Regions from separate parts of the Homo sapiens genome. Here all the other regions are linked to region 6. The links are contacts of gene promoters, found by promoter capture Hi-C in blood cells and fetal thymus (Javierre and others, 2016). All regions are on one chromosome and are shown on one strand. The core of a region is centred on a gene start or on the middle of the fragment in contact, and the rest is flanking DNA. Distances in the headings are between cores, read along the strand shown.

The links. Contacts are between HindIII fragments. The CHiCAGO score rates a contact against its expected background, and 5 or more counts as called.
Region 1: a fragment that was not itself captured here is called in contact with the fragment with the promoter of DMKN in region 6 in 10 of 17 cell types (naive CD8 T cells, total CD4 T cells, naive B cells and 7 more); the score reaches 9.8 in naive CD8 T cells.
Region 2: a contact is called between a fragment that was not itself captured here and the fragment with the promoter of DMKN in region 6, in 16 of 17 cell types (naive CD4 T cells, naive CD8 T cells, M0 macrophages and 13 more). The highest score is 12.9, in naive CD4 T cells.
Region 3: a fragment that was not itself captured here is called in contact with the fragment with the promoter of DMKN in region 6 in 10 of 17 cell types (naive B cells, M0 macrophages, naive CD4 T cells and 7 more); the score reaches 11.1 in naive B cells.
Region 4: a contact is called between a fragment that was not itself captured here and the fragment with the promoter of DMKN in region 6, in 9 of 17 cell types (monocytes, total B cells, naive CD4 T cells and 6 more). The highest score is 8.8, in monocytes.
Region 5: a contact is called between a fragment that was not itself captured here and the fragment with the promoter of DMKN in region 6, in 2 of 17 cell types (M0 macrophages and erythroblasts). The highest score is 5.9, in M0 macrophages.
Region 7: a contact is called between a fragment that was not itself captured here and the fragment with the promoter of DMKN in region 6, in 1 of 17 cell types (M0 macrophages). The highest score is 8.6, in M0 macrophages.

Annotation. Positions count from the first base shown.
Region 1 is chr19:35,090,879-35,094,759 of GRCh38, reverse strand. It overlaps LOC124904701 (hepatitis A virus cellular receptor 1-like), which reads right to left and starts at 3,812. Exons shown (of 3, transcript XR_007067238.1): 1 at 3,640-3,812. All of the region lies in intron 2 of HPN-AS1 (HPN antisense RNA 1), which reads left to right. RefSeq lists an enhancer at 3,701-3,881. The HindIII fragment of the contact is 6,053 bases long and covers 1-3,881 here.
Region 2 is chr19:35,069,112-35,072,568 of GRCh38, reverse strand. All of the region lies in intron 3 of HPN-AS1 (HPN antisense RNA 1), which reads left to right. Among named protein-coding and RNA genes, the nearest start is that of HPN, 29 kb to the right of the region's middle. RefSeq lists a silencer at 1,738-1,938 and an enhancer at 3,323-3,457. The HindIII fragment of the contact is 1,655 bases long and covers 1,058-2,712 here.
Region 3 is chr19:35,048,489-35,051,992 of GRCh38, reverse strand. It overlaps HPN (hepsin), which reads right to left. Exons shown (of 13, transcript NM_001384133.1): 3 at 2,602-2,703; 4 at 2,477-2,518. Among named protein-coding and RNA genes, the nearest start is that of HPN, 8.5 kb to the right of the region's middle. The HindIII fragment of the contact is 5,328 bases long and covers 1-3,504 here.
Region 4 is chr19:35,114,051-35,117,921 of GRCh38, reverse strand. FXYD3 (FXYD domain containing ion transport regulator 3) reads right to left here and starts at 2,099. Exons shown (of 9, transcript NM_005971.4): 1 at 1,963-2,099; 2 at 1,563-1,658. The HindIII fragment of the contact is 443 bases long and covers 1,029-1,471 here.
Region 5 is chr19:35,962,998-35,966,930 of GRCh38, reverse strand. LOC105372383 (a long non-coding RNA gene) reads right to left here. Exons shown (of 5, transcript NR_136525.1): 5 at 2,861-3,384. Among named protein-coding and RNA genes, the nearest start is that of LRFN3, 29 kb to the right of the region's middle. RefSeq lists silencers at 3,077-3,277, 3,027-3,327. The HindIII fragment of the contact is 3,759 bases long and covers 1-3,538 here.
Region 6 is chr19:35,511,882-35,515,679 of GRCh38, reverse strand. DMKN (dermokine) reads left to right here and starts at 2,031. Exons shown (of 16, transcript NM_033317.5): 1 at 2,031-2,630; 2 at 2,890-3,090; 3 at 3,203-3,259. The coding sequence starts at 2,205. The HindIII fragment of the contact is 13,607 bases long and covers 1-3,798 here.
Region 7 is chr19:35,984,332-35,988,082 of GRCh38, reverse strand. No RefSeq gene overlaps it. Among named protein-coding and RNA genes, the nearest start is that of SDHAF1, 9.0 kb to the left of the region's middle. RefSeq lists an enhancer at 1,081-1,140. The HindIII fragment of the contact is 921 bases long and covers 1,252-2,172 here.

The sequences.
Region 1 (3,881 bases), core at 154-2,653, 420 kb after region 6:
CTGCTCACCCTGTTTAAAAATTATAACTCCCACCCCATACTCACAAGCACTCCTGATTCTCCTTTCTAGTTTTATTTTTCTAGGACTTATCACCATCTGAAATATTATGTATTTATTTTTTACTGTTTGTCTCTCACTATTATAATGTGCACTCTAGGAGAGAAGAGACCTGTCTCTTTTGTTCTTTGCTGTGTCTCCAGAGCCTACAGCAGGGCCTGCTACAAAGTAGATACTCAGAAAAATTTTGTGAGTGGATGGATGGAAGGATGGATGAGTGGATAGATGGATGGATGGATGGATGGATGGATGGATGGATGGATGGATGAATGGATGAATGGATGGAAGGATGGATGAGTGGATGGATGATAGATGGATGAATGGATGGATGGCATAGGCCAGGTGGTAGGTGCAGGTGCCCTGGAAGTGGGCTATGGCCCCATCGAAGGTGAAGTAATGAGGATCTCCAGTGGCCATGCAGGTGCCCAGGGGGCTCTGGCAGCCCAGCTGGCCACCCTGCAGACCACAGATCTTCCCAGTGGGGCAGCACGCCGGGCTGCAGCGGAAATGCCCCGTTCTGTCACAGCTGCAGCGGCGGGTGCATCGGTTCAGCCAGACCAGGTCGGAGGCCAGATCAGCATGCCCTGCCCAGCCCAGCCCAGGTGGACCCAAACAGGGCCTGGTGGAGGCCCGAGGCTGGCCTGGCAGCTGACCCAGAAGAGCAGAGGCTCAGGGGCCGGCTCAGCATGGGATGGGCAGGAATGCCATGCCCAGATTCAACAGCTGGGGGTCTGACCATCATGACAGGCTACTGCCTTACCCAGAGGGCAGCAAACTTGTGACACCTGCTTTCTCTCAGTGGAAAGCACAGCCTAGTGATTAGCAGCACAATTTTGGGGTCAGAGAGACCTGGAGTCCAGACCTAGCTCTGTCCCTTGAGATCTCTGTGCATCCTGTAGCCTCAGTTTCCCCCTCTGCACATTGGAGGCAATCAAAGGGCTGTTTGAAGGTCAGTGCGGTCATACGCATGAGGCTCTCACCACCCAGCTGGCCTACAGTAACCAAGTTCTTGACATATATCTGATACCATTATTAATAACATGCTGGCCCAGTGCTCAAGGCATAATAAGCACTCAGAAAATATTACCTTTTATCCCGATGACAGGATTACACACGCAGCAAATGACCAAAATATGTTCACGATGGTTATCATTATATATCATTAACTGGTTAGCACAGCAATACAGCAGATGCCTGGTACATACCAGCCATTATTATTGTTAATATCACCATTATTTTAATATGCTTACACAAGGCACATTGTAAATGCCCAAACTCTTAATATATTAGCCATTATTATTATTATTACTATTCATAAAATGCTTAGCCCAGGCATGAACACAAAGTAAATACCCAATATATTTTAGCTTATTCATTTAATTATTTTTTTGAGATGGAGTCTTGCTCTGTCACCCAGGCTGGAGTGCAGTGGTGTTATCTCAGCTCACTGCAACCTCTGCCTCCTGGGTTCAAGCAATTCTTGTGCCTCAGCCTCCCAAGTAGCTGGGACTACAGGCATGTGCCACCATGCCCGGCTTATTTTTGTATTTTTCAGTAGAGACAGGGTTTTGACATGTTGGCTAGGCTAGTCTCCAACTCCTGACCTCAAGTGATCCGCCCACCTTGGCCTCCCACAGTGTTGGGATTACAGGTGTGAGCCACTGTGCCCAGCCCCCAATACATTTAAAATTTTTTTTTTTGAGACGAAGTCTCACTCTTGTCCCCCAGGCTGGAGTGCGATGGTACAATCTCGGCTCACTGCAACCTCTGCCTCCCGGGTTCAGGTGATTATCCTGTCTCAGCCCCCGAGTAGCTGGGATTATAGGTGCCTGCCACTAAGGGAGGAGACCACCCCTCATATTGTCTTATGCCCAATTTCTGCCTCCAAAGAAAGAAGTAAAAGCCAAAAGACAGAAATGAAATCCACAGGCAGACAGCCCGGCGCCACACCCTGGGCCTGGTAGTTAAAGATCCACCCCTGACCAAACCAGTTATGTTATCTATAGATTACAGACATTGTATAGAAAAGCACTGTGAAAATCCCTGTCCTGTTCTGTTCTGTTCTTACTGGTGCATGCAGCCCCCAGTCACATACCCCCTGCTTGTTCAATAGATCACGACCCTCTCACGTGGACCCTCTTAGAGTTGCGAGCCCTTAAAAGGGACAGGAATTGCTCACTCGGGGAGCTCGGTTTTTTGAGACGTGAGTCTTGCCGATGCTCCTGGCCAAATAAAGCCCTTCCTTCCTTAACTCAGTGTCTGAGGGGTTTTGTCTGCAGCTCGTCCTGCTACACCACCACGCCCAGCTAATTTTTGTATTTTTAGTAGAGACTGGGTTTTACCATGTTGGCTAGGCTGGTCTAGAACTCCTGACCTCAGGTGATCCACTCGCCTCAGCCTCCCAAAGTTCTGGGATTATAGGCATGAGCCGCCGCGCCTGGCCACATTTTAATTATTATTATTAGCAGTATGGGACCTGATGTGTGATCACTACTCAAATGTTGGCCATCAAAATAATACAAATGGTTTGGGTGTGGTGGCTGATGCCTGTAATCCTAGTACTTTGCGAGGCTGAGGCAGAAGGATCCCTTGAGTCCAGGAGTTTGAGACCAGCCTGGGCGATACGGTCAGACCTCATCTCTACAAAAAATTTAAAAATTAGCCAGACATGGTGGCACGCAACTGAAGTCCCAGCTACTCAGGTGACTGAGGGGGAGTATCATTTGAGCCAGGGAATTTGAAGCTGCAGTGAGCTAAGATGGCGCCCGTGCACTCTAGCCCCAGCAACAGAGCAAGACCCTGTGTCAAAAAAATAAATAAATAAATAAAATAAAAATAAAAAAATAAAAATAAACAAAAAATAGCACTGACCACAATGCTAAAACATTTAGGACAGAGTCTTGTACCTATTAATGATAAATAAAATGAGCTGTTTTGATTATTGTTATTATTACTACTATTACATTGCCAAAGTGTGTAGTGGGGGCTATGCACTCAATAAGTGATGGCTAATATTTTAAAAAGTCAATAGTGCTGACAGTAATAATAATAATACATATATTTTTTGAGACAGAGTCTCGCTCTGTTGCCCAGGCTGGAGTACAGTGGCGCCTTCTCGGCTCACTGCAGCTTCCTCCTTCCGGGCTCAAGCGATTCTCCTGCCTCAACCTCCCAAGTAGCTGAGATTATAGGCGTGGACCACAACATCCAGCTAATTTTTGTGTTTTTAGTAGAATGGGGTTTCGCCGTGTTGGCCAGGCTGGTCTCACACTCCTGACCTCAGGTGATCCGCCGGCCTCGGCCTCCCAAAGCGCTCAGATTACAGGCGTGAGCCACCGCACCCAGCCAATAATAATATTATTAAGCACTTAGCACACAGGGAATGACCTTAGTAACTAGTAGCAGTATTGGAATCATCAATAATAAAGCAGGTCAACACATTGTGAACCCACAATGTGCCATCCGCACAATTGAATATAGGTGTCCCGGATTGGGCGCCCATCCCTGGCATGTTTTGGGGGCTCCCTGACCCCCATGATGGGCCGACCCCCTCACAACAGCAAGACCCTGCCCCCAGCTCACCTGGTAGGAGGGGCCGCCGTGCGCCGAGCCGCACTCCTTCGGGTGCCGGCACCTGGCCCCTGCCCACAGGTGCGCGTTATCGTTGGCGCAGCCCTCGGAGCAGGCAGGGCGGCCGCGGGGACGCAGAGCTGCACCCGGCGCGGGTCCAAGCGTTGCTGGTAGCTGCTGTGCTTAGGACACGTGGCGGCTATGCAGGGAGGAGAAAAAGCGCGGGTAAGGAAACATGATCTGCAGGCCACATT
Region 2 (3,457 bases), core at 636-3,135, 440 kb after region 6:
GGCTCCTTTTTGCACCACCAGTCCAAGGAGTGTCTGGGTTAAGGCATCCCATCTTTTTCTCCAGAACACCGCCAGCATCTGGACACATGCACTTCCCTAGCGGTCCAGGGACCCCCCCACCACCCCGCCAGGGAGAAAGTGTCCGAACCTGCTCAGCAGAGAGAGGCTGGGAATGAGAGCTCAGTGCCATATCCCGAGCTGTTCCAGCCCCAGGCCCCAGCGCCAGCCCTGCCCCTCGGAGGTGGACCTTGGACGGGATATGCAGCCCCTCTGTAGGACAGCAAACCCCACAGACCCTCCTTCCCAGCTTGCATGGCGATGAAACAAGTGTTTCCCAAAGGGCGGCACATGGGCTGCTGGCGGGAAACCCCGGGAGAGTATAGGATGGCAGTGAAGAAGGAATTGTTATTATTTCACTAGCATTTGTTTATTTAATACATTTGTTTTGATTTATATTGAAAAACATATATCTGCCACCGCCACATCAAACCCACAGTTTCTTTTTTTTTTTTTTTTTTTTTTTGAGACAGAGTCTCGCTCTGTCGCCCAGGCTGGAGTACAGTGGCGCAAACTCGGCTCACTGCAAGCTCCACCTCCCGGCTTCACGCCATTCTCCTGTCTCAGCCTCCTGAGTAGCTGGGACTACAGGCACCCGCCACCATGCCTGGCTAATTTTTTTGTATTTTTAGTAGAGATGGGGTTTCACCGTGTTAGCCAGGATGGTCTCAATCTCCTGACCTCGTGATCCACCCGCCTCGGCCTCCCAAAGTGCTGGGATTGCAGGTATGAGCCACTGCACCCGGCCTCAAACCCACAGTTTCATAAACATTATTGTTAAAGTCAAGGCTGGCAGGGCACAGTGGCTCATGCCTGTAATCCTAGCACTTTGGGAGGCCAAGGCAGGTGGATCGCTTGAGCCCAGGAGTCTGAGACCAGCCTGGGCAGCATAGCGAGACCCCATCACTATCAAAAATACAAAAATTAGCCAGTCTCATAACCCGGTCTCAAAATAAATAAATCAATAAAAATAATACATAAATAAAGTCAAGGCTAAGCTTAAAAAAAAAAGACACACACACACACACACAAAAGGAAAAGAGATAATTTGAATAAAACAATACAAGTAGTACCAGCGGTATTTGTTTGCCCCTAAGCTCCATAAAGTTGGTTTGTCCTGTCCCCTATATTTCTCCAATTCCTAGAACAGTGTCTGGCACATAATAGGTGCTTAATAAATATTATTTGAATGAATGAATAGCAAAAATTAAGACAGCCACTTTCAAACATCTGAATTTGGGGAAATACTGAAGTAACATGTATAAAACTCTCAGTACAGTACCTGTCACATAGGAAGTGCTCAAAAATATGCATGGATATGTTTATTAATATAAATTATTATTATTATTTAGAAGTGAAACAGGCATTGTGGCCAAATGCTAATTAGTGAAGTATTAAATTAAAGATTTGCCCAAAGCTGACTATCACCTTCTTAGAATGAACTTCTGTAATGTAAGAACAAATGTGAAAGTGTTCTAAAAAGTTATTACTGTCATAATTTTATTATCCACAATTTTAGCAGGGAAATATTTCAGGTTGAACACCTTACTGAGGGATCATTTCTCTGCTTTGTCAGCTGTTAATTTGCTCCGATAGTCCATAAGCTCCTAGGGCAGTTTTAAGATGTGGCCCCAAATTTTTTGACCTGCCTTCCACCACCAAAGGGTGGGGTCTCCATCTCCTCCTCTAGGGTCTGGACAGGTTTGTGATTGCTTCAGCTGACAGAGTGGAGCAGAAATGAGGCTGGGGTGTAAAGGCCAGTGTCTGCTGGAATGCTCACTCTGGAGCCATGAGCCACCACGTGAGAAGTTCAAATGTCCTTGGGTAGCCATATTGGAAGGAAGCCCAAGTTAGCCAGACAATGAGTCCACAGTACCAGCTGAGCTCAGCTTTTGAGTGATCCCAGCCCGGATACTAGACTTGTGAGTAAAGAGCCTCCTTTTGGGATACCGAGGCAGGAGGGTCACTTGAGCCCAGGAGTTCAAGACCAGCCTGGGCAACCAGTCCCATCTCTACAAAAAAAAAATAAAATTAGTTGGGTATGGTGGCACACACCCGTAGTCCCAGTTACTTGGGAAGCTAAGTTGGGAGGATCGATTGAGCCCAGGTGGTAGAAGTTTTAGTGAGCCATGATCACACCACTGCACTCCAGCCTGGGCGACAGAGTGGGACCCTGTTTCAAAACAAACAAACAAAAGAAGCCTCCCTATTCCAGTCCCTGTTCCTTTAGGCTTTCTAGCTAAGGACCTGGTCATCAGGGAGCAGAGACAAGCTGTGCCTGCTGTTCCCTGTCCAACTTTCTGAGCTGCAGAATCCATGAGCATTTACTGTACCCACTAGCTTTGGGTGGTATGTCATGCAGCAAGAGCCAAAACAGCTCCTCGCTTCATAACTGCAGGATTGAAACAGTGTTACTTTTTATGCAGAAACTAAAGTCCATCTCCCTACTTATGCTGCTATCTGAATGTTCACAATAATTATTTCTGAATATAAAATGAATAGCCTTCACCATCATTGCTAATCATGGCTGTGATTTTATGTATGAAATAACTGTTGTGGCAGAGTAGCTGTACATTTCTCCTTCAACCCAGCTGGGAGAATGCCAACTTATAACCACATATGGAGCTATCTGTTCCAACTAACATCCAGAAAGCTTTTCTATATTTGAAAAGGACTATGTAGATATAAATGCTAAATAGGAATGCAAAACTTGGCTTGGGTTCCTGATGTAGTTGCACTAATTCTGTAAGATGGGTCAAATATTTCTGATTCTGAGCGGCACCACAATGACATGGAAGTAATTTTCATATTCAGCTTTTCTGAAGACTGAGACCCTGGCAGGAACTGAAAGCAACCTTGTGACTGTTATTATTCTTTTTAAATATCTTCCTAGCTCTTTGGGGTGAGTGGCAAGGTTGCTGGGAGCAGGAGGAGAAACTGAGGCTCACTGACCCCTGGCATACAAGGGAAACCAGTGAATGGCTGTTGAGTGAATCACAATCTCCCCAGCCCCTCCACTCCTCCAACAAAGCAACAGTGCAGACAGAACTCAGAATGGCTGTCAGAGGCGTTTGAACCAGAGCAACTCCATCTTAAATAGGACCTGGGTAAAGTAAGGCGGAGACCTGCTGGCCCGCATTCCCGGTAAATTAAGGCATTCTAAGTCAGAGGATGAGAGAGGAGGTCGGCACAAGATACAGGTCATAAAGACCTTTCTGATAAAACAGACTGCAGTAAAGAAGTCGGGAAAACCCACCAAAACCAAGATGGCCATGAAAGTGACCTCTGATTGTCCTCACTGCTACACCCCCACCAGCGCTATGACAATTTACAAATGCCGTGGCAATGTTGGGAAGTTATCCTATATGGTCTAAAAAGGGGAGGCGTCAATAATCCACCC
Region 3 (3,504 bases), core at 397-2,896, 460 kb after region 6:
GGGGTGGAGAGGGGCCTCCACACTAGGAGGCTTGGAGCCTGTGATGGGTTGGGATTTTATCTCAATGCCACGTGTTGTCACGGAGGGGCTTTTGACAGGGGCGTGATCCCTTCGCTCTGTCTCTGATGTGTGGTCAGCCTCGGGCAAGTCAGTTTGCTTCACTGGGACTCAATTTCCCCCAAATGCAAAATGTTGGGATGTAACAGCCCTAACTTCATAGGCCTGCTGGGTAAAGGCTGCCGCCAGGGCCTGGCATATGTCAGTCTTTACTATGGCAATGAATTCAGCTGTTCTTTTTTTTTTTTTTTAACAAGCAATCAAGTGTAGACACTATATACAGTTACTACGCAGGCTGCCTGGGTTCAAATCCCAGCCCTGACACTGACTAGCTCCATGACCTGGGGCAAGTCACTCAGCCTTTCTGTGCCTCAGCATCCCCATAGGAAAATGGGTTGTGGTGGTGCACACCTGTAATCCCTGCACTTTGGGAGGCTGATCTGAGAGGACTGCTTTGAGCTCAGGAGTTCAAGATCAGACTGGGCAATGTAGCAAGATCCCATCTCTACTAAAAATTTAAAAAATGAGGTTGGGTGTGGTGGCTCATGCCTGTAGTCCCAGCACTTTGGGAGGCCGAGACGGGTGGATCACCTGAGGTCAGGAGTTTGAGACCATCCTGGCCAACATGGTGAAACCCCGCCTCTACTAAAAATACAAAAATTAGCTGGGTGTGGTGGCACGTGCCTGTAGTCCTAGCTACTCAGGAGGCTGAGGCAGGAGAATCACTTGAACCTGGGAGATGGAGATTGCAGTGAGCCAAGATCGCGCCACAGCACTCCTGCCTGGGCGACACAGCGAGACTCTGGCTCAAAAAGATAAAAATAACAATAATTTGTTATTGACAAAATAATTTTGTGTAGGCATGGTGGCATTAGCCTATAGTCCCAGCTACTCAGAAGGCTGAGATGGGAGGATTGCTTGAGCCCAGGAGATGTAGGTTACAATGAGCTAAGATCGTGTCACTGCACTCCAGCCTGGGCGACAGAGCAAGACCCCATCTCAAAAAAAAAAAAAAAAAAAAGAAAGAAAGAAAGAAAGAAAAAAAAAAGAAAAGAAAAACAACAGGTTGTTGGGAAGACTTAATGAGTTGATATCATAAGGTCCCAAGGCCTTGGCTGGTGCATACAAATGCTAAGTGCTGGTAATGATGATTAATGTTGATGTTGGCTTTTCTTGTCTGGATTTTCATTTCTGATTTTAGTGTGAACTGAATCCTTTATGGAATTAGATGAGGCTCACAGACATGAAAAATACATCCCACCACCCAACTTCCCCTTTTTTCCTGCTGTCCTGCATCAGGGAATGGCAGCTTGAAGTTGGCATTTGGGAAGATTCATTCATTCATCCCACAGTTAGTTTCTTTATCTATTTATTTGTGTGGCCATTCATTCCACATGCCTGCAGACACACTTACAGTGGATAAGTCTAAGAGCTGTTCCTGGCCCCTCGTTCCCCAGCTGCATGTCCTCTCTGGTCCTCATTTTGCACATCTGTAAAATGGAGCTAATTACCAGGGACAGGCGCAGTGGCTCATGCCTGTAATCCCAGCACTTTGGGAGGCCGAGGCGGGTGGATCACAAGGTCAGGAGATAGAGACCGTCCTGGCCAACATGGTGAAATCTCATCTCTACTAAAAATACAAAAAATTAACTGGGCATGGTGGCACACGCCTGTATTCCCAGGTACTTGGGAGGCTGAAGCAGGAGAATCGCTTGAACCTGGGAGGCAGAGGTTGCGGTGAGCTGAGACTGCACCATTGCACTCTAGCCTGGGTGACAGAGCAAGACTTTTTTCTTTTTTAAAACAAACAAACAAAAAAACTACCTCCTAGGAGAGTTAGAAGGGTCCACTGAATTTATATCATGCCTCCCCAACATGTTTTCACCATGCCACGCAGTAAGAAACACATTTTTACATCCTGATGTAGCCCATAGCTCTGTAGTCTGGGGCAAACTGCTGCATTGCTCAAAGCCTCAGTTTCCCCATCTGTAAAACAGGGAGAATAACAGTCCCACCCTCAGAGTGTGGGGATGCAGTGGGATTACATGTATATGGATGCAAAAAAAAAAAAAAACAAACAAAAATTAGCATAACCTTTACTTACTGAGAGATGTACTGTGATAGTCTGTAATCGAATCTATTTCATACTTAAAAAAAAAACATGGTTTTCCAACTCACTAATTTAATTTTATGAGGCACTCATGAGTAATACACTGGTGTCTGAAAAAGTCTGGGTTAGACATGTGGGGTGCTTAGAATAGTGCCTGGTACATAGCAGGCACTCAATACAAATGCACTATTATGATTAGCATTTCTGCATGCATTTGTGCATTTATTCAACAAATACGCTTGTTGAGCTCCCGCCAGATACACGTGTCCTCCAGGGCTCCCCCAGAGGGTCCCAGCCTGCTCCACTCACCTGGGTACAGCGGCTCCTGGTCACTCCTGAGGAGAACAGCCACTGCAGAGAAGGGAGGGGTGAGGGCAGGCAGGCTGGAGGCTGCAGGGGCCAGGGGAGGTCAGAGGCACAGGAACCGCTCTCACCAATGGCCCAGGATGCCGCCCCGATGGCTGTCAGAAGTAGCAGGGTCCCCGCAGTGAGAGCTGCCACCTTGGGTCTGGAGCAGCATGGCACAGTCCGGCCACCTGCAACAGACACCATGCTGGGGCCACAGCCAGGCCTGTCCTCATTGCGGCAGGGTCTGGGCCCGAGGCCAGCTCTGCCCTGCCCCCAGGGCTAACTTATTATGCCCAAGCATGTCCTCCCCAGGCCCAGTTTCCCGGGGCCAGCAGTTGACAGGGCTGTTCCTCCCCTGCCGTGTGAACAACCAGGTGCCCAGCTCCCCCAGGGTTCCAGCTGGGAGGGGGGCATGGCCGGGCCACCTGCCACGGTCTCCACCTCCGCCCTGCACTTTCCTGGCACTTAGGGAATGTCTCCTCCCCAGTGACACTGTGCTTTTGTATTTCTGTCTTTGCTTTGGGCCATCTCTTCTTGGGACTGTGACCCCCAACCTTTGCCCTCTTGGTAGCTCTCTTCCCTGCCGCTGGCATTTCCTCGCTGCCTCAGTCGTTTCTGCTGTTCTAGATGCTTTGCCCCTAGATACCCCCTAAATCAGACCTCTCTCATGGTACCCAGTTGCAAGATCAAATTTGCCCCTCCACTTGAAAATCTGCCAGCCTCATTTTATTTTATGTATTAATTTTTTTAGCGACGTGGTCTTGCTATGTTGCCCAGGCTGGTCTCAAACTCCTGGGCTGAAGCGATCTTCCTTCCTCAGCCTCCCAAAATGCTGAGATTACAGGAGTGAGCCACTGCGTCTGGCCAGCCTCATTTAAAAATATTGACCCTACCCCTTCCTAGCTGGAACCTAAGGCAGGTGCCATCATATCTTTGAGCCTCAACTTTCTTATCTATTAAATGGGCATCCACTGAGCACCTACTTCTAA
Region 4 (3,871 bases), core at 1-2,500, 400 kb after region 6:
AGGGTGGTGCCCGCAACCAACGGTGCGGGTGGTCCTTGCAGGTTGGCACAGACTCCTCCCTCTGCCTGGCACCCCAGGGCCTGGGAATCCTCTCAGCTTCCCAGTTAATTCCACATGCTGAACTCACAATTTTAGTTGGAGCATCCATTTCTTTTCCTTTTTTTGCGGGAAGAAAGCCTGAGGCTTTGGGGAGCATTACTGAGGCCCAGGAAGTGTTTAGGATCCCCAAAAGTGTTGGGGGTTGGGGGAGCTGGCGTGGGTGGGTGGGCAGGATGGCATGTTGGATAGGGGCACAGGTTGTAGGTGGACTGCCTGTGGTCTGAAGCTGTCACCCATGACCATACGAGTCCTGGTAATAACAGCAGATGCTTATTGAGTGTCTACCCCATGGGGGCATTTTCTCAGCTTCCCACTTACTCGCTCAATCTCTGCAGCTTAATGCAGGGGGCACTATTATTAGCCCACATTGCAGTTGTAATCCTGTAACCCCTGCAAATTCATCTTAAAGCCCTATGCTCTGTCGCCATGGCTGTTGAGTCTCACCTCTTAAGCCTCTTTCCAGGGGCTCCTCCAAGCCACCTCTGGCCTGCAAGGCCCCACTATACCCCCTTCCCATGATGTCATCCAGCCAAGACTGACAGATGGTATCCTCCTCGCCCCAGCCTCTGCAAAACAACGTCCAGTCCCATGCTTCCGGAGGCTGCAGGGAGCCGGGAGCTGGGTCTGCCCTCACGTTCCCCATTCAGGCTGTTGTCTGAAGAGGCTGTGGGCTGCTCCCGAACTGATGTGGTTGGTGAGCAGGTTAGAGAGGAAGGCAGCCCTGCAGCTGATGCTCTGTCTACCTGCTCTCATCCTTCCTGGCCATGAGGTCCCAAGGCCGGCCTGAGGACTGTTTCCCCCACCTGCCCTCTGCTATCCCCTCTATTCCTCCATACCATGGGAGAATGGTCTCATGTTCAGGGGTGGGTAGAAAGATCCTGCCCGCTGTGTGCTCCTGAAATCTCCCAAGCAACTCCCCATTTAAAGCTTCCCCCAGCAGCTCCATCCTTTTTTCCTGGAGGTCTCCAGAATCCAGATCCCTCAATGTCTGGACACCCCGAGTCCACCCAGCACTCCTTATCCACCCAGATCCCTCAATGTCTGGACACCCCGAGTCCACCCAGCATTCCTCATCCACCCAGATGTCCCCAGTCCATCTACGCACCCCTGGTCCACTTAGATACCCCTACCTACCCAGGCACCCCCTCTCCTCCACCCAGCTATCCCCAACCCAGATATCCCTAATCCATGCAGACACTAGTCTTTCAGACACCCCAACCACACTTATCAGTCCTGCCCTCACCTCAGCTGGTTCAACAAGTCCCTGAGAGGAGAATGGTGGGGAAAGGGACATTAGGGGAAGGGACTTCCGTTTATCTCCTGGCTCCAGAAAAGCATTTCACAAGATTTTAGGCGCTTTAACATAAAAGCTTCTATGGGGCAGGGTCAGGGGGCAGGTAGATACTTCCTAATTTAGGGGCAGAGACAAGGAGGGCTTGGAGGAAGGGGCCCCAGCTGCTCACCTGTGTGGTTCACCAGGCTGAGCAGAGGTTCCGGGAGAAATCGGGCTGCCAGGCGGAGTCCTGCGTTTATCCGAAGCTGCCACGCCCTAAGCAAACCTGGGCAGGTAGAAAACAAGTCAGATGCCCTGAGGCCCAGGGGCTCCATTCCTGCTCTTAAAGAGACAGCTTCACCCCCTCCCCAGCCATGGGCGGCAGGTTGCTCCCTGGGGTCACCAGGACCACAGCAGCCTCAGGTGAGACGGAGAATTGGATGGGCTGGAACTCGGCCCCTGGAATTAAGGGAGGAGCTTTCTCCAATCTCCTGTGCCCAGGAGAGGACCTTGAATGGGGAAGGTTCTGGGGTCTTTAAACGGCAGAGCCTCCAGGGCCATGCAGTGAGATGATGCGTTGGTGTTCCGACCTCACTTCTTTTCCTTAGATGATGTGTTTTGCCTGGTGGAAGGATTGCTGGCAGTTGTGGAGAACTTAAAGTCCCCTTCCAGGCCACATCTTGCCGCTGGTACAATTTCAGGATCAGCAGAAGATGCTAGCGTGACCAAAGTCAGGAGATGGGGCAGGGGTGGATATGAGGGAGCGGCTGGAACAGCAGGGAGGGGTCAGGGTGGGGACTCTGGGACCTTAGTCCTGGTCATAACCTGCTCCCTGCCCTGGGGAGAATGAGAACTGTCTGCCAGGCACCAGGCTGCAGTTTCCTAGCCAGGCTCTTTCCGTGGGTGCTGGGAGCCAGACGCCTGGGTCTACAGAGTGGGTGCTGGTGGGGGCGGCTGCCTCCTAGTCCACATAAGGCCCCCAGCACTGTACAAGCCTCCCTCCCCCTTTCCTCCCCTGTCTCCTGCTCCTCCTCCTCCAGGCATTCCTTCCGGATGGGGTCTGTGCAGGCTCCCCCATGGTCCCAGTTGGGGGTGCCCCCTCCCCTCAATTCCGCCTTCTTAGACAGAGGGACTTTTGTCTGGGGGCTGGATGGAGAACAAGGATCCTTTGAGCGGTTGGCGGAGGATTGGGGTCACGGGGAGGGGTAGGGCCAGGAAAGGGGTAGCTCTGCCCTGGACACCAGCTGGACTCCAGGCGACCCCAACACCACCGTGGGGGCGGGGAGGAGGGCTGCAGGGCCTGGCCAGGGAGAAGCAGCTGCTGGGAGTGTGGAGCACAGGACAGGAAAAGGGGGTTTGGGTCAAGGCTCTTCCGGAAACTGGCCTGCTGGGGGCAGAGAGAAGGACCCCCCACTTGTCATCGCTGAGGGATCGGGGAGGGCAATGTTCGCCCAGCGCTACACCCCTTCTCTATGTGGTTCCCTGGGGCAAGTTGTCAAGCCCAGGTCCTAGACAAGGGTAAGGCTCCCTCCTACCACTCTTAAGGCGGGGCCAGTTCCCATAAGGAAGCCGGGCGGGGGGACCTCGGGGTAGGGCTCTAAGCAACAGGTCCAGGAGGAGATAGAAACAGGAAGGGGAGGCCCGGAGGCCAACTCAGTATAGCTAAGGGGGGTCTTTGTGTCTGGGCGGATAGCGTCTCTTCCCTAGACCCTTGAAGCTTGTGTCTGGGACGACCCCTTGGTGGTCTTGGGAGTGGAATGGTGTCTCCCTCTGCTGGGAAGCCTGGGAACTGCAGGCATCCGAGAGCGAGTAGGGGCGTGTACAGGGTGGCTGGGAAGGGCGGGGGGTGCTCTGCCCTTCACCGGAACGGGGTGAACTGGAGAACTGTTGTCTAAAAATCTTGGAGGAACACCCCTGCCCGTGGTTAGATACAGAAGTATTTCCCAGACAGCTTGCTAAGGGGAAAAAAAACAAGGTATTGGGAAACCGTGCAGTGTGCTACCATTTGTGAGCGGTAAAATAATGCATATGTATATACTTGTAATGAATAAAATATTTTTGGAGATTGGCATCCATACCCATGGCTTCTGGAGAGGGAAACTGGGAGGCTGGAGGGTGGGGTGGAAGTGAGACTCACTCATTATCACGTGCCCTCTTATATTTTTTGAATTTTGCATCTTGAAAATGTACTACCTTAAAGGGGTTTAATTTAAAAAATTTGGTTCAGATTTAAAAAAAAATTTGCAGGTCAAAATTTCAACCTAAGGGCTGGTTTCAACCTGGGGGACCAGCAATTAGAGACTTCTGACAACCTCTGAATGTTCTGTAGTTTTAAACACCATGATCTTACATTCTGAGGTACAGACGTTTACGGTTTTTACCCAATCCAGGTCAACCATAAATTCTTCCTAGGCTGGACGTGAACATGCTGCGTCCAAGTGTGTGTTGGGCTGGCGCTGGGGCTTGGGTTTATGGTCAGAAGGACTCTGAGACCCTAGT
Region 5 (3,933 bases), core at 410-2,909, 450 kb before region 6:
GGCAGGGTTCATTTACGGTCACTTGTGCAAGCCCCAGATGAGCCATGGCCACAGGTTCAGGCTCAGGTCCCCCCAGGAGCACAGGCACAAGCCTTGGCTCAGCTTCAGGTGTGTTGTTTGGTCCTGATGCAGCCACTGCCATGGTCTTAGAGCTGAAGATGGACGGTGTTTTGGAGTCCTGCCATCTTGGAACTGGACAAGGTCTCAGACTCACATGTGACCTGAGTGGTGGGCACACATTTAGGCCTTTTTCATTTATTTATTTATTTAGATTTTAAATTACTTTTTTGTTTTTTGTTTTTTTCTTTTTTCTTTTTCTTTTTTATTTTGAGGCAGGGTCTGGCTCTGTTGCCCAGGCTGAGGTGCAGTGGTGCGATCTCAGCTCACTGCAACCTCCACCTCCTGGACTCAAGCCATCTTCCCACCTCAGCCTCCTAAGTAGCTGGGACTACAGGTGCATGCCACCTGGCTAATTTTTGTATTTCTTGTAGAGTCAGGGTTTTGCCATTTTGCCCATGGTGGTCTCCAACTCCTGAGCTTAAGTGATCCACCCATCTCTGCCTTCCAAAGTGCTGGGATTACAAGTGTGAGCCACTGTGCCCAGCCACACACTTAAGTCTGTGCTTCACAAGCTGACATGTGGTCCCATCAGAGCATGTATGGCCCTCACAGGAGACCTGGAACTGGAGTGGCATCACCAGGGAAGACTAGGAGGGGATGGGACTCTATGAAAGGGCTCACTTCCTCCTCAGTCAAAATATTTAGAGATGAGATGAGGGAAGGATGCAATATAATTGGATCCTGGAATTTAGCCTCATCCCCGACCTGCCTTCATACCCCGGGCCTCCAGGGTCCCTGGCACTGGAAACTCAACATTCAGAAGCTATCAGTGTTCCCAATTTAAAATAAACTGGGTCTGTATGTATCAGCAGAAAGAAAAGAGTGGGACTGAGGGACAAAATGATCAGCACGGCCTGGGTGTAGAATAGGTCTGTAGGGAGCTCGAGAGCACAGGCTGCATCTGAAGACAGCCAGATTCAATTATGTGAGCATCTCTATGCCAGTGCAAATGTATGGTGCATTGATTCTGGCCATCGAGGACTTCAACTTGCCACATTAAGCAGACTTGAGGGTAGGATGTGAGAGTGTGTGTGTGTGTGTGTGCGCGTGTGTGCGTGCGCATGTGTGTATGCTGTGGGGAACTGGAGACATATATTCCTTCCTTCTTCCCAGGAAGGGATGTTATTTATTCATTGCTATCAGTGCACGAAGCTAGCCACCTACAAAGTGAACTTTTTTTTTTTTTTTGAGACAGAGTCTCACTCTGTCACCCAGGCTGGAGTGCAGTGGTGTGATCTCAGCTCACTGCAGACTCCACCTCCCGGGTTCAAGAGATTCTCATGCCTCAGCCTCCTAAGTAGCTGGGATTACAGACATGCACCACCACATCTGGCTGATTTTTGTATTTTTAGTAGAAATGAGGTTTTGCCATGTTGCTCAGGTTGGTCTCGAACTCTGACCTCCGGTGATCTGCCCACCTCGGCCTCCGAAAGTGCTGGGATTACAGGCATGAGCCGCCACACCTGACCCCAAAGTGAACTTTTAAGAATAATCTTGTGTTCTGTAGAACTTTGCATATTTTCTATCACAATGGAATATAGAAAAAAAAAGATGGAATATAGAGTTTTCGTATGGACTGAGCTAGAGTGTCAGCTCCCTGAGGGCAGGGATGTTGTCTGTGTTGTTCACTGTTGCATCTGCAGTGCCTAGAACAGGCCTAGCCTGAAGAAAATGAAAAAAAAATTGCTGCAAAGTAATACTGGCAAATATTTACTGCATGCCAGACAGTGTTCTATGAAGTCATTTAAAAAACGCTGGCAGGGTGCAGTGGCTCACGCCTGTACTCCCAGCACTTTCTGAGGTCAAGACAGGAGGATCACTCAAGCCCAGGAGTTCAAGACCAGCCTGGGCAAGATGGTGAGGCCCCATCTCTACTTTTTTTTTTTAATTAAAAAAAAAAGGCTGGGTGTGGTGGCTCATGCCTATAATCCCAGCACTCTAGAAGGCCGAGATGGGCAGATCACCTGAGGTCAGGAGTTCAAGACCATCCTGGCTAACATGTGGAAACCCCATTTCTACTAAAAATACAAAAATTAGGTGGGTGTGCTGGCCTGTGCCTGTAGTCCCAGCTACTTGGGAGGTTGAGGCAGGAGAATCACTTGAACCTGGGAGGTGGAGGTGTAGTGAGCCAAGATCTTGCCATTGCACTCCAGCCTGGGCAACAAGAATGAAACTCCATCTCAAAATAAATAAATAAATAAATAAATAAATAAATAAATAAATGAATAAAAATAAGGCCAGGCGCGGTTGCTCATGCCTGTGATCCCAGCACTTTGGGAGGCTGAGGCAGGTGGGTTACTTGAGGTCAGGCGTTCAAGACCAGCCTGGCCAATATGATGAAACCCCATCCCTACTGAGAATACAAAAATTAGCCAGGAGTGATGGCAGGCACCTGTAGTTCCAGCTACTAGAGAAGCTGAAGTGGAAAGATTGCTTGAACCTGGGAGGCGGAGGTTGCAGTGAGCCGAGGTTGCGCCACTGCACTACAGCCTGGGCGACAGAGTGAGACTCCATATCAAAAATAATAATAATAATAAATAAATAAACATAAAAAATTAGAGCCAGGTGCAGTGGCTCATGCCTGTAATCCAAGTGTGTTGGTAGGTCAAGGTGGGTGGATTGCTTAAGCCCAGGAGTTTGAGACCAGCCTGGCAACATAGCAAGACCCCATCTCTATTTCTATTAAATAATAATAGGAATAATAAATAATTTAATTTAAAATGCCACAACAACCTTATGATGTTCATACTATTATCCACCTTTAATAGAGGGGAAGTAGATAGTCAGAGAAATGAATTGACTTATGCAGAATCACACAGCTTGGAGCAGGATTTGCATCCAGGACTCTTGGCTCCAGAGTCCAGCTCTGAGCTGTTATAAATAAATGAATTGAAGTCCTTGTCTTCATTTCTAAGAAACCCAGCCTCTCTCTCTCAGCATTCCCTCACTTTTCTCTCATCTCCCTGGTCTTCCGTTGTTTCTCAGGACCGTAAGAGGTTGAATGGGATTTCAGGGTTACAGGAAAAGCCCAGGTCCCGCAGCACAGTGTGTTCAGAACCATGGTCAGCGTCCAGTCTCGCTGAGTCTTCGCCGAGCGCGGTGCCCTCTGAGACAACATGCCTGTTTCCCAGCAGCCCAAGCAGGCTTGGGGTTCAAAGCTGACATCTGTTCAGCATGTGGCCTTGGGCAGTGATTTCATGGCTTAAACCTTCAACTGTCTTCTCTATGAAATGAGGATAACAAAAAGACCCATCTCCAGGATGACTGTAAAGAGAACATTATATAATGTATGTACATTATTTATAAAAGCACTTGCCACTTAGCACATAAGTCTAGACTACTTTATAAGTCTTTGCAAGGTGGTACAAAACACAAAACAAAACAACACCCCCCACAACCAAAAAGGTGGTTAAAAGCTTGCACTGTGGACACAGACAGACCTGGGTTCAAATCCAGACACTGCCACTTTCTAGCTGTGTGAGCTTGGCAAGAGACTTGAGCTCTGGTCTCGGCCCCTCTCCCCAGGGAAAAGCAATCGTTACAATATTATTATAGGCTGAGGGTGGTGGTTTTCACTTGTAATCCCAACAGTCTGGGAGGCTGAGGCAGGTGAATTGCTTGATCCCAGGAATTTGAGGCCAGCCTGGGCAATATAGCAAGACCCTGTCTGTACAAAAAATAAAAATTAGCTAGGCATGGTGGTGCACGCCTGTAGTCCCAGGTACTTGGGAGGCTGAGGCTAGAGGATCATTTGAGCCCAGAGGTCAAGGCTGTAGTGAACCACGGTTGCGCCACTGCACAGCAGCCTGGGTG
Region 6 (3,798 bases), core at 782-3,281:
AATACCACTGTTTGCTCATGCCTGTCATCCCAGCACTTTGGGAGGCTAAGGCAGGAGGATCGTATGAGCCCAGGGGTTTGAGATCAGCCTGGGCAACACAACAAGATCTCATCTCCACAAAAATAAAAATTAAAAAATTAGCTGGAGGCTAGGTGCGGTGGCTCACGCCTGTAATCCCAGCACTTTGGGAGGCCGAGGCAGGCAGATCACGAGGTCAGGAGTTCACGACCAGCCTGGCCAACATGGTGAAACCCTGTCTCTACTAAAAACACAAAAATTAGCCCAGCGTGGGATTACAGGCCCAGCATGCGCCTGTAATCCCAGCTACTTGGGAGGCTGAGGCAGGATAATCACTTGAACCTGGGAGGCGGAGGTTGCAGTGAGCCAAGATCGTGCCATTGCACTTCAGCCTGGGCAACAGAGTAAGACTCTGTCTCAAAAAGAAAAAAAAAATTAGCTGGGTGTGCTGGTGTGCATCTATAGTCCCAGCTACTTGGGAGACTGAGACAGGAGGATCGCTTGAGCCCAGGAGGTCGATGCTGCAGTGAGCTACAATTGTGCCAGTGTACTCCAGCCTGGGCAAGACCCTGTCTCTAGAAAAAAAGAACCATCTCCCAGAGTTGTATAATTCTTAAACTGCTTGTGCTTAGTCCAATGCTGGGTACATACAGAACCGCTGATAAGCTGGAGCTGTAATTATTATTATTATTATTATTATTATTACCACCATCGCTATTATCATCATTAACGAGTCAGAGATGGAATAACAGGGAAGTAGGAGCTGAGGAGGACAGATGGGGATAGTGTTTACAAGGTAAGAAGTGTTGGATGTTATAAGCTGGGGTGCGGATATTGGGGTGGAGAGAAGAGAGAGACTGACTGAGAGACATTGAGAAAGGCTGATGGAAACTGGCCCCTCCTAACTGGGCGATGAACCCCAGTGATACGAAACAGTGGGAGGCCCTGTGGCCCCTGGGAATAGAGAAGCAGCCACACTTGCTGGGCAGGGGTGAGGCGGGGGGAGGCTCCCAGGTTCTGTATCCCGAGCTGGGACTGGGGAGAGGGCCGTGGCTCTCACGGATGGCTCCTGACCTTGCGCTACCCTCTTCTCGCTTGCCATTGCTGCCCTGGCCCCTGGCCTGGGGGATGGGTGGGGTGAGCTGGCCCAGTCCCGCCCCTCATAGGCGCTTATACTCACACGTGCCCCTCTAGGGCTGCGTAAACAGGATGGGTGCCTGGGTCAGCGGCTCCCTCCCTTGGCCTTCCCTCCCACTCGTTCCCTGGGGGTGGCTGGCGCGCCTGGCTGCCCTGCTCCGCGCCCAGCTTTCTCAGCCGGGAGCAGCCTGAACGCTGAGACACCCTGCTGACCACTCAAAGGGCTATGGCCACCTCCTTCCCCGACACCGAGGGTCCCCCCGGGGGCTCTCCCCAGAATCTCAGAAACTGACACGCAGCCCCGTGTTTGCCAGTCTCTCTCTGTGGGCTGGAAGGTGTGGAGGAACAAGAAGGCAGTCACCTGTAGGTGGCAATGCGGGAGGGGAGAGGGAGAGGAGAGGCTGAGGTGCTGAAACCGAGAAAGGCCAGGCCGAGGACGGGCAATGCCTGTCACTCTGGAGCCCCTGAGCCAGGCTGGCTGAGCCTGGGTGGGTCCTGTCCCCTGGGGCTTCCCTGTCCTTACTCCTTTGGTGGGGTCCTGCCAGTAACTCCTCTCTTCTAAGTCTGCCCCCACCCCACCGCCTCCAGGAGCCAACGACAACCTGTCTCCTTAGATGCCCCTGCCCCCACCCAGCTCCCCGAATGCCTGGGGTTGGGAAATGGGAGCACTTTTGCATCACCTCATCCATTTCTCCCTCCCTCCCTGATGCGGCTCACTCTCTGTTTCGACAGAGACTCTCAGACTCACAATAACAGCTGATTACCCTATTGGTGGCTGGGCCCTGAGTCACTGCGGGGAGGGACCTCAGGTTGCCCAGCCCTGTCACCTTCTCCCAACCTAGAGTATAAGGAGTAGTGACAGGGAGGTGGACTCTGAGAAGCCCAGGCAGTTGAGGACAGGAGAGAGAAGGCTGCAGACCCAGAGGGAGGGAGGACAGGGAGTCGGAAGGAGGAGGACAGAGGAGGGCACAGAGACGCAGAGCAAGGGCGGCAAGGAGGAGACCCTGGTGGGAGGAAGACACTCTGGAGAGAGAGGGGGCTGGGCAGAGATGAAGTTCCAGGGGCCCCTGGCCTGCCTCCTGCTGGCCCTCTGCCTGGGCAGTGGGGAGGCTGGCCCCCTGCAGAGCGGAGAGGAAAGCACTGGGACAAATATTGGGGAGGCCCTTGGACATGGCCTGGGAGACGCCCTGAGCGAAGGGGTGGGAAAGGCCATTGGCAAAGAGGCCGGAGGGGCAGCTGGCTCTAAAGTCAGTGAGGCCCTTGGCCAAGGGACCAGAGAAGCAGTTGGCACTGGAGTCAGGCAGGTTCCAGGCTTTGGCGTAGCAGATGCTTTGGGCAACAGGGTCGGGGAAGCAGCCCATGCTCTGGGAAACACTGGGCACGAGATTGGCAGACAGGCAGAAGATGTCATTCGACACGGAGCAGATGCTGTCCGCGGCTCCTGGCAGGGGGTGCCTGGCCACAATGGTGCTTGGGTGAGTGGCTGTGGGGCTGCATGTGGAAATGGGAGGCTGTGGGCTGCTGGGCTGAGATTCTTGGGAAACGGTTGAAAGGATGGATGGATCTCTTACTTGCAGGCTTCTGGGGCAGCTTCCTTCTATGTTCTGCCCCCCTCCTATGCCACCCTGGAGTCCCTCTGCCTGTCTCTCTCCTGGTCTCTTTATGATTTGCCCTGGCTCTTCTCTACCAGGGTCAGAGATGGTCCCACTAAGTGCAGGTATGTTGTTCTTGCAGGAAACTTCTGGAGGCCATGGCATCTTTGGCTCTCAAGGTGGCCTTGGAGGCCAGGGCCAGGGCAATCCTGGAGGTCTGGGGACTCCGTGGGTCCACGGATACCCCGGAAACTCAGCAGGCAGCTTTGGAATGAATCCTCAGGGAGCTCCCTGGGGTCAAGGAGGCAATGGAGGGCCACCAAACTTTGGGACCAACACTCAGGTAAAGTCACCCCCAGACCTGCTACCTGCCACCTCCCTCCCTCCAAGCCCACATGCTCCGCGTGCCTCCCTGGTCCCTCTGGATCCTACTCTCAGTCTCACCCTCTCTGCAGGGAGCTGTGGCCCAGCCTGGCTATGGTTCAGTGAGAGCCAGCAACCAGAATGAAGGGGTAAGAGGAAGGGGCTGGGAACAAATGAAGAAGCCACTGGGTGCAGGCTACAGAGAGCTGGGGAAAGACAAAGAGGAAAGCAAGATGGGGGAGTGGAGGGATTGGGGTGAGAGGAAGAGATGGGGCTGGGCGAGGTGGCTCACACCTGTAATCCCAGCACTTTGGGAGGCCAAGGCACGTGGATCACCTGAGGTCAGGAGTTCAAGACCAGCCTGGTCAACATGGTGAAACCCTGTCTTCACTAAAAATACAAAAATCAGCCGGTCATAGTGGCATGCGCCTGTAATTGCAGCCACTTGGGAGGCGGAGGCAGGAGAATCACTTGAACCTGGGAGATGGAGGTTGCAGTGAGCCGAGATCGCATCACTGCACTCCAGCCTGAGCAACAGAGTGAGACCCTGTCTCAAAAAAAAAAAAAAAAAAAAAAGGAGGAAGAGACGGGCCTGGGCCTGGGGAGGAGGCAGATGGGAAGGGGAGGTGGGAGAAACACATTAGGAGAAAGGAAGCCAAGCCCCAAAGAATGGGAGAGGCCTGGCCTG
Region 7 (3,751 bases), core at 463-2,962, 470 kb before region 6:
AGTCATGCCTGTCCTTCCTATACTCCATCCCCACCATCTAGCTGACTCTGCTAAACACCCTTATCTTTTTTTTTGTCTTTTTTCTTTTTTCTTATTTTTTTTAGACAGACTCTTGCTCTGTTGCCCAGGCTGGAGTGCAGTGGCACGATCTCGGCTCACTGCAACCTCCACCTCCTGGGCTCAAGCAATTCTCCTGCCTCAGCCTCCTGAATAGCTGGTACTACAGGCATGCACCACCACTTCCGGCTAATTTTTGTGTTTTTAATAGAGACAGGGTTTCACCATGTTGGCCCAGGCTGTCCTCGAACTCCTGACCTCAAGTGATTTGCCCGCCTCGGCCTCCCAAAGGGTTGGGATCACTGGAGTGAGCCACCGTGCCTGGCCTAAACACCCTTATCTTTTAAAGACATACACTTTTTAATTTTATTTAATTCTTTTAGAGACGAGGTCTGGCTCTGTTGCCTAGGCTGGAGTGCAGTGGCGCCACCATGGCTCACTGCAGCCTCGACCTCCTGGGCTTAAGGATCTTCCTACCTCAGTCTCTTGAGCAGCTGGGAACACAGGCGCGCACCACCCCCCCCCCCCCCCGCCTAATTTTTAATTTATTTTTTTGAGCCCGGGAATGGTGCGGGCCAGCAAGGGAGAGCACAGGGGCGGAGCGCGGGGGCGGGGGCCGCAGGGGCAGGGTACCAGACGGTGCCCAGCGGTGGGTGTCCGCCTGCAAGGAAGCAGCCGCATTCGGCTGCGGGCACTCAGAGGCGCCGCTCAGCGGGAAGCCCTGGCCGCATACTCAGCGCTCCCGGCAGGGCTGTCACCCGCGCATGTGGCCAGGTAGCGCGCAGCTCAGCGCGAACGCAGCGGGCACCGCAAAGCTGGGGCGGGCCGCGGGGGTGGGAGGGTCAGGGACAGAGACAGAGAGAGGTGGGGGAGACATAGCCAGGGTCGGATGGGGGAGGCGGAGATGGAGGATGCCCGCAGAGAGCAGCACGGGTGTGCCCGGGGAAGAAACAACGAGGAACCGAGAGAAGGGGAACGGGAACAGGGGAAGGGGCGGGGCAGAGGGAGGTCCAGAAAGAGAGACATGCAGAGAGCCAGCGGCACGGAGGAGACATAGAGACACCGAAAAAAGAGGCATAAAAGACAGAAAGACCTTGTTAATCAGGCCGGGCGCTGTGGCTCACGCCTGTAATCCCAGCACTTTAAGAGGCTGAGGAGGGAGAGCCGCTTGCGCCCAAGGATTCGAGGCAAGCTTGGGCAACATAGTGAGACCCCTGTCTCTATAAAAATTGTTAAAAATTTTAAAAAGACCTTGTTAATCAAACCAGACCAATCAAATCAAGTCATACCCCTGCCTGTCTTGCCGCATCTAATCTGGTCCTAACTGTTCTCCAGTACCCACCCTTCCTCGCCTAGCCCCACTGCCCAGGCCTGAACTTCTGTTGGTCCTGACGCGACCGTCCCCTGGTGGCCCATGTCAGGGCTCTTCAGAGCTTACCCCTCTCTCGAAAGCACACTCGTGACAGAAGGCAGACTCCCAGAGCCCTGCAAGCCACAGTGTAGGCAGCCAGGGCCCAGTATATGGTTCAGTGGGCGCTGTATTGGTGGCACACAGTGGGCCAGGCACTTGCTGAGGAATGGGCCTGGTCACAGTGCTGCATAGCCGGGCTCCAAGGGATCCACCGCCACTGCCAGCCACACTCACTGCCCATTCCTGGTGAATAGGGCATGCACGGCCATCTGGCAAAATCCAGGGCAGAGGGGCCCACAGACCTGGCTGCAACCTGGCAACTTAGCAACCTTCCGGGCATTGGGCAAGGATGTAATAGGGTCACTGGGGCCAGAGTCTACACAGGTAGGGTCCATATGGCCATGGCAGCATCACAAGTGCCAGGCTGTCCCAGTCATAGCAAGAGGCCAAAGTCTGTGTCCATGTACAGCTGGCAGCCCCAAAGTTGGGTGTGGAGGTGGTGGCCATAAGAGAAGGGCAGCGATTCCCAAATTCCGTCTACCTACACAGAGGGCATGCAGGCAGGTTGAACAGCAGCAGGAGATGGTCACTGAGTAGTGGGGGAGTCAGCAGAAAGGATCAGAGAGGGGTCAAAGAGAACCTTAGTGGCTGGTTAATGGGGGGAGTCATTAGGGATCATAGGAGGATTTGGTGGGAGGTAAGCTTGGGGCTCAATGGGGGGTCAGTATAGGATTCAAAGGGGGATCCATGGCAGAGTGGTTGGATGGCCAGAGTTGATGAGAGGTCAGTGGAAGTTCAATGAGGGGCAATAAGAGAATGGATAAGAGTCAGTGAAGAGGGGCCAGCAGCGGGGGGCAAGGGGAGGATCTAGAAAAGGGCAATGGAGGAAGGGATGGACAACTCCGTGGATCACTGAGGACCGAGGCTTAGTGGCTTTGGGCGACAATGGGGGCTCCCCTGGAGAGTAAATGGGGGTGGAGTCAGAAGGGTAGTCAGTGACTGACAAACGCTGCTGGGTTTGTGGATGGCAGTTCAAGGTTAATGGGCAACATCCTACTGGGAAGGATGCCTCTATGATCAATGAGGGCCTAGTGAGACTTGGACAGTGCTCTAGGAGAAGGTGTGCCAATGAATGAATGGGACACTATAGAAAACTCAACAGGGTGAGAAGATGAGTCAAAGAGAGGCTCAATTAGAGGGATAATAGAAAAGCAGGGGAATGCAGTGCAGGAGTTAGTCATATCCAGTATAGGAAGCTCAGTAGAGAATCAGTAGATGGCAGGGGTGGGGGCTTGATGGGCAGGTCCACAGGGGGTAAATGAGGACATTAATAGGCCAGTCAATGGATCACTGGGAAGGTCAACAAACTGCTCAGAAAGCATCAGTGTGGGAGGTCGGGACGGTGTCGGGTGGGGTCAATAGGACAGTAAATGGGATTAATGGGCAAGTCAGTATAACAGCAGTAGGATTGGTCAGGTATGGTGGCTCATGCCTCTAATCCCAGCACTTTGGGAGGCCAAGGCAGGAAGATCATTTGAGCCCAGGAGTTCAAGACCAGCCCGGGCAACATAGCGAGACCCCCTGTCTACAAAAAATTTTAAAAAGTAGCCAGTTGTGGTGGCGTGTGCTTATAGTCCCAACTACTCAGGAGGCTGAGGTGAGAGGATTGCTTGAGCTCAGAAGGTTGAGGCTGCAGTGAGCCGGGATCACGCCACTGGACTCCAGCCTGGACAACAGAGAGACTCTGTCTCAACAAACAAACAAACAAACAAACGTAGTAGGATCAGCTGGGGGAGGGCAATGGATGACTCAATGAAATAATTAATGGGATGTCCAATGACAGGGAGGGTCAATGCAGAGATGAGGCTGAGCCTGTGGGTTGAGGGGATTCAATTAGGGAGTTAATAGGATGACTATTGAGGATTCAATGGAGAGTCAATGGGAGGGTAAGTGGAATCTCAATGGCGGTTAATAATGACAAGTGGATGCCAGGCATGGTGGCCCCCTGTAATTCCAGCACTTTGGGAGGCTGAGGCAGGTGGATAACTTGACATCAGGAGTTAGAGACCAACCTGGGCTATATGGTGAAACCCCGTCTCTACCAAAAATACAAAAATTAGCCAGGCGTGGTGGCACGTGCCTGTAGTCCCAGCTACTTGGGAGGCTGAGGCAGGAGAATCACTTGAACCTGGGAGGTGGAGGTTGCAGTGAGCTGAGATCACACTATCGCACTCCAGCCTGGGCAGCAGCATGAGACTCTGTCTCAATAATAATAATAATGAC